Linked DNA regions of Homo sapiens: region 1 is linked to region 2. The links are contacts of gene promoters, found by promoter capture Hi-C in human tissues and cell types (Jung and others, 2019). All regions are on one chromosome and are shown on one strand. Each heading gives the region's core, a stretch centred on a gene start or on the middle of the fragment in contact. The rest is flanking DNA. Distances are from core to core; before and after follow the strand shown. Region 1 overlaps SNRPD3 (small nuclear ribonucleoprotein D3 polypeptide). Region 2 holds the start of KIAA1671.

Evidence for each region. The method cuts DNA at HindIII sites, captures the fragments that hold promoters and counts their contacts. A contact is called where the count stands out against the background at its distance.
Region 1: a contact is called between a fragment that was not itself captured here and the fragment with the promoter of KIAA1671 in region 2, in 2 of the 25 tissues and cell types used here (bladder and heart right ventricle).

Annotation. Positions count from the first base shown.
Region 1 is chr22:24,561,171-24,563,870 of GRCh38, reverse strand. All of the region lies in intron 2 of SNRPD3 (small nuclear ribonucleoprotein D3 polypeptide), which reads right to left. Among named protein-coding and RNA genes, the nearest start is that of SNRPD3, 6.5 kb to the right of the region's middle. RefSeq lists an enhancer at 1,457-1,958. The HindIII fragment of the contact is 9,525 bases long and covers 1-2,700 here.
Region 2 is chr22:24,951,341-24,954,040 of GRCh38, reverse strand. KIAA1671 reads right to left here and starts at 1,325. Exons shown (of 13, transcript NM_001145206.2): 1 at 1,269-1,325. RefSeq lists a silencer at 1,259-1,508. The HindIII fragment of the contact is 5,810 bases long and covers 1-2,700 here.

The DNA.
Region 1 (2,700 bases), core at 90-2,589, 390 kb after region 2:
GGGTTCTCATTTTTATACAGTGACACAAGACCATATTCCATACAGAGACCAGTTTTCCAAAGATGGCTATTATATGCCAAAGCCAACAAAACAGATTTCAAACAGTCCCATCAGTGATTGGGTGGTCATGTTGAAGCCCCAAAAGCACAATGTCTGCTTGTGCAGAGCTCTACACCACATTCTCCCACCAAAACTTCTAAGAATTAAGTCATTTTGAATGTAGTGAAATGGGTTTGACCATTACTCTCTGTATTTGCTTGTATCATTTATAATTTGGGTCCATTTTTATAAAACTGGGGACATATTTTGGAGTATTGTTATTTTTCTCACTTATGCCAACAGCATTTTGACCAACATGCCATATCCTGCAGCTGATGCCCTATCCTGCAGCACTGGCCACCAGTGCTTGGCTTGCAGCTGTCGGAATGAGAAGGAGAACAAAAGCTCCCTGCCTTCCCAGCTTAACCTCAGATGCACACCCTCTGACCCGATAAGCACCATTTCAGGGACCTCATCCTGAGTTTCACATACACATATTTCCTCTTCTTCCTTTAAAAAAAAAAATATATATATATATACACACACACACACATATATATACATACATATATACATACATACACACATACACACACACACACACACACACACACACACACACACATATATGAGACAGGGTCTCACTGTGTTGCCCAGGGTGGTCCCAAACTCTTGGGATCAAGTGATCCCCCTGGCCCAGCCTCCCAAAGTGCTGGGATTACAGGCATGAGCCAATGTGCCTGGCCATATTTTGCATTTTCAAATGTCAAAAACAGTGCTAAGATAACAGGATACTTTAAAACTACTTGAGGGACCATAAAAGGGTATTTTGTATGGGGATGTTGTCGAGGATATCATCTAATAGTGTCTCCTGTATCTGAGTGCCAGGGAAATCCACACAATTGCTATTTTAACTTAAGAACACTATGCATTTTGGAACTGATGATCTTCCCTGCTTAATCTTACACTGGAATATACCTTTATTCAATGTACAGAGAGATTCAGGTTTACATTTCTGGATACTGACTGCTTGGCTTCATTTTACATTCTACCCCAGCTTACCTGCACCATGATCTATGCATCTACTTTTATCCTGCCATAGAATTTTTTTAATTTTAGAGATAGGGTCTTGCTCTGTCACCCAGGCTGGAGTGCAGTGGTGCGACCAGAGCTTAATGCAGCCTGAACTGCTGGGTGGGCTCAAGTGATCCTTTTTGCCTCAGCCTATGGAGTAGCTGGGACTACAGGCATAAGCCATCACATCCAGATAATATATTTTTTATTTTTGGAGATGGAGTCTTGCTCTGTCGCCCAGGCTGGAGTGCAGTGGCGCGATCTTGGCTCATTGCAAGCTCTGCCTCCTGGGTTCACGCCATTCTCCTGCCTCAGCCTCCCGAGTAGCTGGGACTACAGGCGCCCGCCACCACACCTGGCTAATTTTTTGTATTTTTTTTAGTAGAGACAGGGTTTCACCGTGTTAGCCAGGCTGGTCTCAATCTCCTGACCTCGTGATCTGCCCGCCTCAGCCTCCCAAAGTGCTGGGATTACAGGCGTGAGCCACAGTGCCCAGCCCCACATCCAGATAATTTTTAAACTTTTTTGCTTTTCAGAAGAGACAGGGTCTAACTATTTCTGAAAGAGGATAGAATAAAAAGTAAATACTAAAACCCCAAAACAGGGCAGGTGTGGCTTAGGCCTGTAATTCCAATACTTTGGGAGGCCAAGGTGGGAGGATCGCTTAAGTCCAGGAGTGCAAGACTAGCCTGGGCAACAGAGTGAGATCCTCTATTTATCTTTTCCGAATCGTTGTGGTGTGCTTTTGTGTGTGTGTGAGACTAGGTCTCACTCCGTCGCCCAGGCTGGAGTGCAGTGGCACTCCATAGCTCACTGCAGCCTTGACTTCCTGGGCTCAAGTAATCGTCCCAACTCAGCCTCCACCTGAATGGCTGGGACTACAGGCATGTGCCACCACATCCGTCTATTTTATTTTTTTTACAGACAAAGTCTTGTCATGTTGCCCAGGTTGGTCTTGAACCCCTGGGCTCAAGTGATCCTCCTGCCTCAGCCTCTCAAAGTGTTGGGATTATAGGAGTAGCCACCACATTTTGTCCCACCCCACTTTTATAACAGAAAATGTTATTGAACAAGCAAGGAAAAGTGCTAAGAGGATGTTCTCATTCCCAAAAGGCAGAATGACTGGATCTGGGAAGGACAGGCAAGCCTCACAGCCTGAGATGTGCTGAACAAACTAAACTGTGCTCAGAGTTCACCCACCACCAGCTTTAGCTACGCCACAGTCTGCTGGCTCTTATTCAATGTGCCTAGGTTTTGATAGACCCAGTGAGGCCTCTACATCCTGTTACAGGCTAAATTGTATCCCTCAAAAAAATTCATTGTTGAAGTCCTAATACCCAGCACCTCAGAATGTGATCATATTTAGAGACAAAAAATCTTTACAGGCCAGATGTGGTGGCTCATGCCTGTAATTCCAGGAGTTTGAGAGACTGAGGCAGCAGGATCACTTGTGGCCAGGAGTTTGAAACTGGCCTGAAAAACATATCAAGACTCCGTCTCTACAAAAAAATTTAAAAATTAGCCAGGTATGGTGGGGCACACTGGTAGTCCTGGATACTTAGAAGACTGAGGTGAAAAGATCTCTTG
Region 2 (2,700 bases), core at 76-2,575:
CTGAGGGAGGCACTGATACTTATAGAGCCCCTACCTGTTTCATACCCTTCATTCCGATCCATCCTAGGCCAAGCCCATTTTGCCCAGAGGGTCCCCATCTGGATTCAGATAGGTTAAGTGTTTTGCCCAAGGTCACAAAAAAGGTGCAAAGAAAGTGTTTTTCTTTGTGCAACAGGTACAGTCCTTTCCCTTCCAAAAGATAATGGCTGCTCCTGGCTAGAGAAAGTTCAGTCCCGGCAGGCAGGAAGCCCTAGCCACCTAGGCGTCGCGCGGTGGAGGTCACACGCCTGCTCCGGGACTGGACAAACAGCAGGGTTTTAAGGCGCGGCGTCCCCACTCCCAGGCGAGTTTGTGCCAGCAGGGTGTGAAAAGGTCAGGCTCGGGTGGGGGTCAACGAGCCGCTTCCCATCCCGAGGGCCCCACCCGTGAGCCCGGGTGGGCCGCGCCGCCATCGGGGCGGGGACCACGCGGGCCTGCCTGGTAACAGGGGGACTGAGGCTTAATCCCATCAGGGCGCCTCCGCCCTGGGAAGACGAGCGGAGGGGGGGCGCAGGCCAGGCCGAGAGGACGTGTCCGGAGCCTCCGCGTCCGAGGGGCCCCGCGCGCCGCCCCTCTCACGCCCCCCGAACCACCGCGCTGTCCTCCGGGCTCCCCTCGACCAGGGTTCCGTCTCGCTCGCCGCCCTTGCTTCCCACTTCCACCTCCGGGGCCTCCAACCCGCACAAATGTCCAGACCCTAGCAGCTCCAGGCTGAGTAACCCAGATCTCCAGCGATCCCTCAGCTCCTAGCCACGGGATCTCTCTGAATCCATTCCCAAGGCTCAGGCTGGCATGGGAGGAGATTGATCCTCTCGCTCCCAGTCTCGAATCACCCTTCGCCGTCACCCCTGACTGGGGATCCAGTGGGACCCCAGGCCTCCAGCGCCCGATCCCCTCCAGGGATCGACTCCCAAGTCGCCAACCAGGTGGCACGTGATCCATTGGTTGCCCTGTGCGGGATCTTCCCGCGGGATCCACTCTCAAGTCTCGGGAGACGGATTCCCCGGCTCCCAAACCGGGATCCTCCCTCCCTGCAGACCCGGAGTCTGGGGAAATCCTCCGGCTCCCCGCCTCTTCCCCGGCCAACTTTGCCAACTTTTCTCCCGGGGCCTCGGCCGGGCAGAAACTTGGCGGCCCTCGCCAGCCGCCGTCACCCCCAGCTACCTCGTCGGCCGGGGACAGGAGGCGGCCAGCCGGCCCCCACTGCCCGCAGCCGCTGCGCAACCTACCGTGGAGCCACCGCCAGCCCGCGCCGCGCCGCCACCTGCCCGCAGCCCGCGGCACCTGCCCTGGGAGCCCGCAGCCCCGCGCAGCCTAGCCTGCTGGGGGCGGGGCCTCGAGCGGGGACGCGCCCCCGTCACCATGGGAACTGCCGCCGGCCGCGCCTGCGCGGAGGGGAGCAGAGCAGGCAGGACCCGAGTCCGCAGTGGCGCCTGGGCCTGGGACCTCTCCGGCGGGTCAGAGGTCACGACTCGCTTGGACACCCCTGCCGGAAGCGCTCCCGCCCCTCGAGGCCCGACCCCGCTCTGTCCAATTGGGAACTTTGCTCCGGGTACCCTCCCGCGTTCCCTGGATGTTCCCCAGTCACCAGCCAGGATCCCCCGCCACCGGCACCGACCCGCTGCCCAGCCGGCGACCCCGAGAGCCTAATGCAACCCAGGATTTCAGGAGGCGCTCCATAAATGTGGGCCCACTGACTTGCCTGGGCTGCTGGTGCCGGCCCGGGGGCGGGCAAGGTCTGTGCGCGGTGCTGGCGCCTCCTCGCGCCAAGCAAGGGCACTGCACCTGAGAGTTCGCTGGAGCGCCTACTGTGTGCGCATCCTCCTGCCATTATGTTGTGGGTGTGAGTTGTGGGGTAATGGGTACAGGAACTTGTGGACAAGTTGAGAGAATCGTAGGAAGTCGCCTCTGAAAGAGAAAATACCTGTTCTGTTATCCGTTACTCATTTCATTCAGCAGATCTTTATTAAGCACCTATTGCATGCTGGGTGCTGGAGAACCCAGTGGTGGGCAGCTGGCAAAATCCAGGCTGTTGTGCAGCTTACAGATATTCAAACAAATAATTTCACGAGTATATCAAATTGAATCTGTGACATGTGCTCCTATGGGAAATGTACAGAGCATGAATAACTGGAGGACCTAAAATCAATGTGCCTTTATTATAAGCAAGATAGACCTCAATAAAAAAAGAGAAAGAAAAGGACATCACAGGCTGCGCACGGTGGCTTGTAATCCCAGCATTTTGGGAGGCCGAGGCGGGTGGATCACCTGAGGTCATGAGTTTGAGACCAGCCTGGCCAACGTGGTGAAACCTCGTCACTACTAAAAATTACAAAAATTAGCTGGGCGTGGTGGCGGATGCCTGTGATCCCAGCTACTCGGGAGGCTAAGGCAGGAGAATGGCTTGAACCCGGGAGGTGGAGATTGCAGTGAGCCAAGAGCGCGCCACTGCACTCCAGCCTGGACGACAGAGCAAGACTCCATCTCAAAAAAAAAAAAAAGAAAAAGACATCACATTGTGTGGCTTCAGGAGGATTGGTGGGGAGACTTCTTGCCTCATTTTGCTCTTAAATTGTTGGGTGTGTGTAAGAAACAAGGGTAGCTCCTGTTCTCCACACCGTTTGCACTGCAACCCTTTTGAAGGTCTGATCATCACCATCA